Regions from separate parts of the Homo sapiens genome. Here region 1 is linked to region 2. Evidence: promoter capture Hi-C in human tissues and cell types (Jung and others, 2019). All regions are on one chromosome and are shown on one strand. The core of a region is centred on a gene start or on the middle of the fragment in contact, and the rest is flanking DNA. Distances in the headings are between cores, read along the strand shown. Region 1 overlaps DNAJC7 (DnaJ heat shock protein family (Hsp40) member C7). Region 2 holds the start of MLX (MAX dimerization protein MLX).

Region 1 (4,244 bases), core at 1,268-3,767, 590 kb before region 2:
TAAATAAATAAATAAGTTGCAATGGAAGGCCAGGCACAGTGGCTCACGCCTGTAATCCCAGCACTTTGGGAGGCCAAGGCCAGTAGATCACTTGCGGTCAGGAGTTCAAGACCAGCCCGGCCAACATGGTGAAACCCTGTCTCTACTAAAAATATAAAAATTAGCTAGGCATGGGGGTGGATGCCTGTAATCCCAGCTGCTCAGGAGGCTGAGGCAGGAGAATTGCTTGAACCCTGGAGGCAGAGGTTGCAGTGAGCCAAGATGGCACTACTGCACCCAGACTGGGCTCAGTCTTAAAAAAAAAAAAAAAAAAAAAAAGGCCGGGCGCGGTGGCTCACGCCTGTAATTCCAGCCCTTTGGGAGGCCGAGGTGGGTGGATCACGAAGTCAGGAGTTCCAGATCAGCCTGGCCAATATGGTAAAACCCCGTCTCTACTTAAAATACAAAAATTAGCTGGGCGTGGTGGCGCACACCTGTAGTCCCAGCTACTCGGGAGGCTGAGGCAGAAGAATCACTTGAACCCTGGAGGCGGAGGTTGCAGTGAGTCGAGATGGTGCCACTGCACTCCAGCCTGGGTGACACAGCAAGACTCCGTCTCAAAAAACAAAACAAAACAAAAAACAAAATCCCAATAGATTTTCTTAGTGGAAGAGATGGTAGGTCTGTTCACCATTCACAGGTCAGGTCCTCTTTTTTTTTTTTTTTTTGAGACAAGTCTTGCTCTGTCGCCAGGCTGGAGTGCAGTGGTGCGATCTCAGCTCATTGCAACCTCCGCCTCCCGAGTTCAAGCGATTCTCCTGCCTCAGCCTCCCAAGTAGCTGGGACTACAGGCGTGCGCCACCATGGCTAGCTAATTTTTGTATTTTTCATAGAGACGGGGTTTCACCATGTTGGGCAGGATGGTCTCAATCTCTTGACCTTGTGGTCCGCCCACCTTGTTCTCCCAAAGTGATGGGATTACAGGCGTGAGCCACCATGCCCAGCAAATTTTTTGGCAGACAACTTAGAGTGAAGACTGACTGAATTAATTAATTAATTTTTGAGATGGAGTCGCACTCTGTAACCCAAGCTGGAGTACAGTGGCGCAATCTCAGCTCACTGCAACCTCTGCCTCCTGGGCTCAAGAGTTTTTGGTGCCTCAGTCTCCTGAGTAGCTTGGACCACAGGCATGCACCACCATGCTCAGCTAATTTTTTTGTATTTTAGTAGAGAGTACAATTTTTTTGGTATTTTGTATGTTGCCCAGGGTGGTCTTGAACTCCTGAGCTCAGGTGATCTGCCCGCCTTGGCTTCCCAAAGTGCTGGGATTACAGGCGTAAGCCACCGCGCCCAGCTCACAGGTCAGGGCCTCTTATCTCTGACAGCCCACAGTGAGCAACAATATTGACAATAGGTGTGCTTTATATCATGCTAAATCTTTTTGGGAAATTAAAATCTGTGAGTGTTTATAGGAATGTATGACATACATAAATGTCAGCATACACTTTGCAGTGGGTAAAAAAGAACTTCCAGATAATAGGAAAATGCTCATATTCCTTACCACATACAGCCCTTATGGCCTGTGAGCTCTGATCCAGCTACTTGCCGGCCTTCCACCACCACCTGCCTCTAGCACCCTATCCCTTTATCTTCCCTAGACCAAGCCCCCTGCAGATCCCCAAAGAGGCCATGCTTTGCTTTTTTAGTGGGGAGGGATGGAGTCTCACTCTGTTGCCCAGGCTGGAGTGCAGTAGCGCCATCTTGGCTCACTGCAACCTCCACCTCCCGGGTTCAAGTAGCTGGGATTACAGGTGTGCACCACCACACCTGGCTAATTTTTCTTTTTTCTTTCTTCTTATTATTTTTTTTAATTGAGACAAAGTCTTGCTCTGTCGCCCAGGATGGAGTACAGTGGGACAATCTCGGCTCACTGCAACCTCCGCCTCCTGGGTGCAAGCGATTCTCATGCCTCGGCCTCCCGAGTAGCTGGGATTACAGGCGCCCACCACCACACCTGGCTAATTTCTGTATTTTAGTAGAGACGAGGTTTCACCATGTTGGCCAGGCTGGTCTCAAACTCCTGACCTGGTGATCAACCTGCTTTGACCTCACAAAGTGGTGAGATTACAGGCATGAGCCACCGCGCCCAGCCTAATTTTTGTATTTTTAGTAGAGACAGGGTTTCACCATGTTGGCCAGGCTGGTCTCAAACTCCTGACCTCAAGTGATCTGCTTGCCTTGGCCTCCCAAAGTGCTGGGATTACAGGCATGACCCATGGGGCCATGCTTTTCTGCACTTCCAAGCCTTCCCTTGCTAGTGCTCGCCTCCTCAGAGCTCACTGCACACTGTGAACCTGCCACATTTGACTGCATTTGTTTGACTCCATGTCTATTACTGTTTGGACCAGGGATCAGATTTGGCCCAAATAGACTCTCCCTCTGGAGCATCTTTGGAAAAAATTCTAACATTCTACAGCTGTCAAATTCATCCCAGGCTGCCCCAGCCAACTCACCACCCATATTCATGCCCTCCTCATCTAGGTCCTGTCCACTGTCATAGCGAGTCTTTTTCTTGGGATCAGAGAGGATAGTAAAGGCCTCTCCAACTTCCTTGAACTTCTTCTCCTCCTCCTTCTGAACCTCAGCACTGGCTCCACTATGCCGATCTAAAGTGGGGAGTAAAAGAACAACTCAGTGGAAATCAAAGTTTCAAGAAAACAAAGTTTAAGAGAAAAACTACTTTCTGTCTAATTTTGGAATTTGGCACTTCCCAAAATTTGGAGGGTCCACAAGTCTGCAACACCTTATTCTCAGCTGAAGGACCTCTCCAAGGGGTCCCCTCTGGACTGAGTGTGGCAGTTGGCCTGCCCTGCGGGTTCTTCCCACTGAGCCCACTCCCCGCACCTACTCTACCTGGATGGTGCATCAAGGCCCGTTTCCGATAAGCTTTCTTGATCTCGTCCTCAGAGGCATTCTTGTCCACTCCTAGAATCTTGTAGTAATCTTTCCTCTTACTCTTCTTCAGTTCCAGCTGCGCATTTTTTAGGAGCTGTTTGTGTTCTACAGGAAGACATCTGGCATCAGTGGACAAATCTGACTCTGGTTTTTTCCTCACCAGGTCTCAGCCCAGCTGCCTGGGAGTTAGAGGCCTTGTTAACCATGCCAGGGACTTTTACGGTGCTTTCTTCTGGAGATTAGAAAAAAAATCTACTCGGCCAGGCACGGTGACTCATGCCTGTAATCGCAGCACTTTGGGAGGCCTGCATCAATGAGAGATGCAGGTAAATGAGACAGAAAAGGGAACTCTAAACACAGGTTTGCTTCTATTTCGGTAGCACGAAAGAAAGGAGGGGCCCTTGGCCCAAGATGGGAGGAATCAAGCTTGACAGAATGGATCACCCGAGGTCAGGAGTTCGGGACTAGCCTGTCCAACATGGTGAAACCCCATCCCTACTAAAAATACAAAAAATTAGCCAGGCGTGGTACCATGTGCCTGTAATCCCAGTTATTCGGGAGGCTGAGGCAGGATAATTGTTTGAACCTGGGAGGCAAAGGTTGTAGTGAGCTATGATCATGCCATTGCACTCCAGCCTGGGTGACAGAGCAGGACTCCATCTTAAAAAAAAAAAAAAGAAAAAGAAAAAAGAAAATCTACCCAGACTTAGGTTCCTCACTTTAGCCTCACCACACAAAAAATGAAATGAAAACGACAGGGAGGATCTGGAACCAGAAAATAGGTGCCTCATGCCCCAACCCAAGATATCTGTTCACTTTTTTTTTCTTTTTTTTGTTTTTGTTTTTGAGATGAAGTCTCGCTCCGTCACCCAGGCTGGAGTATAGTCGCGCAATCTTAGCTCACTGCAACCTCCGCCTCCTGGGTTCAAGGAATTCTCGTGCCCCAGCCTCCTGAGTGGCTGGGATTACAGGCGTATACCACCATACCCACAATTTTTTGTATTTTCAGTAGAGATGGGGTTTCACCATGTTGGCCAGTCTGGTCTCCAACTCCTGATCTCAGGTGATCTGCCTGCCTCAGCCTCCCAAAGTGCTGGGGATTACAGGCGTGAGCCACCACGCCCAGCCTTTGTTCACTTCTTTCTGGCTGGTGATCAAATAAGTTCTAGGTAGATCCCTGATCCCTGAATCAAACTACCTTGTGTACAGATTTATGGCCTACGAAGTCCACACAGTTCCCTAAAAAACAAATGCTTTTAAACTTACCTTTTGTTTTCTCTGTCTGGTATACTTTTTCATAGTCTCGTACT
Region 2 (4,027 bases), core at 1-2,500:
GTGGGTACTGCCTGACCCTGCCCTCTCTTCCTCCCAACATCCTGGCCTGTCTGAAGGTGGAGAAAGCCTGGGCCCTCTTGCAGAAGCGCATTCCCAAGACTCATCAGGCCCTCGACTGAAAAGTTCTCAGTGGGGCCAGACTGGCTCCTGGAGCTGACAAGCGACCCCGTGGTGAGGAGAAATGGGGGCCTTGATGCTCACCCTGGTTCAGGCCCAGAGGTCCAAGCTATACTGTGCAGGACATGGCCAGGCCTGGTGGACACAGGAAGCCTACCCAACACGCTGGTATTTGGCCAACACTGAGGATGTGGTTCATGGGGGAGCAGTCCCCTCCCCACTCTTGCCCATGGGTGACTCTTACCCACAGCTGACTAGGGCCAGCGCAAATACTGGAACCTGTAACAGAATTAAAGGTGAATGTTCTGAGATGTTGCTTGTATGGTGTCTGCTTCCTGTTCCAATGCCCCTAAGTATCTTTGGGATCCTTAAGCCACAAGTGCAGGGCCCAGGCCTGAGCTGGAAGCCTGGGCAATGCAGTGGTTAAGAGAATGGCCTTTGAGGCTAGCCAGAGGCGAGCTTTGGCCCTCCCACTGACCAGCTGTGTTCTTCTGAGTAAGGTGTAGACTTTCTAGGTACTGCCGTGTTTTATTGTTTTTGTTTTGTTTTTAATATGAGAGGCCGCATAACCTAGCTAGCAGGTTCTTTGCAAGGGTTCATTCCACATGCATCCTGCCAGACACTGGGCTGGGTGTTGGAAGATCAGCCTTCCGCGCGCCAGGCGGGGCCTCTGCCCTCACAGAGCTTGCAGCCTGGTGGGGTCGGACGATGTGGCTGGGGGCTTCTCTGCCCGGTTCCTGACACACCGGCCAGCAGTGCAGGTCCGGTGAGCGCGGGGAGGCCGCCCTCAGGGTAACGTGGGGAGCCGGCCGGCCGGACAGTGCGCGTGCACACACTATCTGCGGCGGTGTGCTGACAAGCCAATTGAGGGGACTCCATCTTACAAAACGCGCTTCATGTCGCCGCCATTCCACTGCCTAACCCGGGGAGGGCAGGCACGGCGGGGAGCAGTCTCGAAGGAGGCTGGCGCCAGGCCAAGCGCCGGGCCTTGACGGCTGGAACCGTGGAGTAAAGTCTTTGGGCTGCGCATGCGCGATGCTTCGCCCTGCCCCACCTCTCGGTCGCGGATTGGCGGGCGCGGGTCACGTGGGCACGCCACCCGCTTCCTCGCCGCAGGGGGCCCGCCCGCTGGCCCGTTTCCGGTCCGGTGGGTACAAGATGACGGAGCCGGGCGCCTCTCCCGAGGACCCTTGGGTCAAGGCAAGCCCCGTGGGCGCGCACGCCGGCGAGGGGAGGGCGGGTCGGGCTCGTGCACGTAGGGGGGCCGGAAGACGAGGGGCTTCCCTCCTGTCCCCAAAGTCCCCCACGCTCTCCGTGCCCCGGGGCTGCAGAGAAGACAGCTCTCACCCCGCGTGTGCCAAGGTGGGGAGACAAACGAGGCGTGTGCGCGCGAGTCGGGGGAACGGGGCACTGGGGTGGAGTAGGGGCGGAAGGGATCATACACAGGGGAGGCACTCGCACGCCCTAGCCTGTGCCAGTCTCGGGGGACTCATTAAGCTGCCCGCGCACCCCGGGCTGTGTGTGTGCAAGCGCGCAGGGTGACAGAGGCGCCTTCCCGGAATGGGGGGCGCGCTGTGCGTGCCTGCAGTGGAAGGGGCGCCTCCCCCTAGGGGCGGAGGTCTGACGGGCCCTTCCCGTGCTCTGTGCCGCAGGTGGAGTATGCCTACAGCGACAACAGCCTGGACCCCGGTGAGTAGCTGCCCCATCTTAAGCTCTAGAGGGACACTCCCGCCCAGGCTCTCTAGATTCTTGTGGCGTTGCCAACCACGCCTGAGCACAGTCCACTCTCCCTGAGCAGAGTTCCTGGCTTGAGACAGCAGGAGCTGAAGGACAAGGGCAGAAAACAACTGAGGGTGACACCTAGTTCCCTCTGCTCTGGAACAGGGAAGTGGTGGAACTGATCACTCACCACTCAGTGGAGCAGCTGATCACTCACACCCTCATCACGTCCACATGCCCGTTTGTGAGCCAGGGGGGTATCATGCAGGCCTATGGAGCAGTGTAGACACTAGGGAGCAGAGCACTGCAGCGTGGTCTGGCAGGAAGTGGGGGGCCCAGTATGGTTGGCTTTGGGTTGAAGGGAAGAGGTCAGCATTTAAGAAAGCCATTGTGTGGCCGGGCGCGGTGGCTCACCCCTGTAATCCCAGCACTTTGGGAGGCCGAGGCAGGCGGATCACGAGGTCAGGAGACCGAGACCATCCTGGCTAACACGGTGAAACCCCGTCTCCACTAAAAAATACAAAAAAATTAGCCGGGCGTGGTGGCGGGCGCCTGTAGTCCCAGCTACTCGGGAGGCTGAGGCAGGAGAATGGCGTGAACCTGGGAGGCGGAGCTTGCAGTGAGCCGAGATCGCGCCACTGCACTCTAGCCTGGGCGACTGAGCGAGACTCTGTCTAAAAAAAAAATAAATAAATAAAAGAAAGCCATTGTGTCCTACAGGTGTCTGAGGGTCTGGCAATGTTCCCCACCCCACCCCTTAGTGATTGGGGCCTCTCTTTTCCAGGGCTTTTTGTAGAAAGCACCCGCAAGGGGAGTGTAGTGTCCAGAGCTAATAGCATCGGTTCCACCAGTGCCTCTTCTGTCCCCAACACAGGTAGGCAGTAACATCCCCCCCGACCTCGGGGGGCTCAGATATGTCATAATTGTAGTACCTTTCCTAGACAGGGAAGCCCCAGCCATCCACACAGGGGTGCTGGAGCCAAAGTATCAGACACAAGGTCTCACCATCTTTCACCTCATCTGGAACATTAGGTGGTTCTGTCCATCTGCCTTCTCTGGACACCAGGTTCTTCCCAGCTGGGGAAAGGTGGGCTAGCTGGACCCCACTGGGCCCCAAGATGACCTTTCCCTGCCCCCATCTCTGAGCGTAGATGATGAGGACAGTGATTACCACCAGGAGGCCTACAAGGAGTCCTACAAAGACCGGCGGCGGCGCGCACACACTCAGGCTGAGCAGAAGAGGAGGGACGCCATCAAGGTGAACAGGGAGGCCTGTGCCTCAGCCAGTGCGGGAGGGCCCTGCATAGTTTAGCTTCCCTGTGCCCTGACCCACTCAGACAGTCCCAGGCACCCTAGGGGGTGGGCAGGTAGTATAGTCCCAGGCACAAACACCTCCCTTGCAGCCTTCCCACCCCATTGAGTTTGTGAGCATAGAACTTGGTGTCATGGAGGAACTTTGTGCCATTTTGCTTTAATCTCTCAGGGTTAAAGAACCCATTTCCCCTGCTGTTTCCACAGAGAGGCTATGATGACCTTCAGACCATCGTCCCCACTTGCCAGCAGCAGGACTTCTCCATTGGCTCCCAAAAGCTCAGCAAAGCCATCGTTCTACAAAAGAGTATGGCTAGGGAAAGCACTGGAGGGGATGGAGCCAAGCGGGGCTGTGAAGAGGCCAGTGCCTCCTACCCACCCATGGCTCGGCCTTGGTGTGGTGATTGCCATGGGATAGTTGGGGTCTGGGGTAAGGGGAACAAAGTCAGCCTTATCTTCTTGGTTGAGAATACTTCTGTACCTGTCCTTTTTTTCTTGCCCCCACCCTAGCCATTGACTACATTCAGTTTTTGCACAAGGAGAAGAAAAAGCAGGAGGAGGAGGTGTCCACGTTACGCAAGGATGTCACCGCCCTAAAGATCATGAAAGTGTAAGAGGGGTGCTGAATGGGGGGAACCAGAACTTCTGAGGCAACTTCATTGCACACCCTCCCTTGTTCAAAGGCCACATCAGTTACTGCTGTACAGATAATACTCTTAGTTCCTGAGCTAGCCAGTAGGACTGTGTATCCCCAACTGTCCTTACACATGGCAGACACTCAGGAAATGCCTGTTGGATTAATGTAAGGAAGGTTGGAGAGAGAGGGCCACCTTTCCTGACCTGGAAGCAGTATCTCCCTGATACTGAACCCCACCCAGAA

The links. The method cuts DNA at HindIII sites, captures the fragments that hold promoters and counts their contacts. A contact is called where the count stands out against the background at its distance.
Region 1: a contact is called between a fragment that was not itself captured here and the fragment with the promoter of MLX in region 2, in 1 of the 25 tissues and cell types used here (spleen).

The regions. Positions count from the first base shown.
Region 1 is chr17:41,979,363-41,983,606 of GRCh38, forward strand. It overlaps DNAJC7 (DnaJ heat shock protein family (Hsp40) member C7), which reads right to left. Exons shown (of 14, transcript NM_003315.4): 10 at 4,201-4,244; 11 at 2,893-3,039; 12 at 2,493-2,645. Among named protein-coding and RNA genes, the nearest start is that of CNP, 15 kb to the left of the region's middle. The HindIII fragment of the contact is 3,240 bases long and covers 898-4,137 here.
Region 2 is chr17:42,565,850-42,569,876 of GRCh38, forward strand. It overlaps MLX (MAX dimerization protein MLX), which reads left to right and starts at 1,251. Exons shown (of 8, transcript NM_198204.2): 1 at 1,251-1,317; 2 at 1,770-1,806; 3 at 2,621-2,710; 4 at 2,988-3,094; 5 at 3,355-3,454; 6 at 3,658-3,757. The coding sequence starts at 1,276. It overlaps COASY (Coenzyme A synthase), which reads left to right. Exons shown (of 9, transcript NM_025233.7): 9 at 57-428. The coding sequence ends at 119. RefSeq lists enhancers at 1-9, 10-516, 723-772, 1,530-2,037, 1,913-2,002 and a silencer at 1,113-1,512. The HindIII fragment of the contact is 10,895 bases long and covers 1-4,027 here.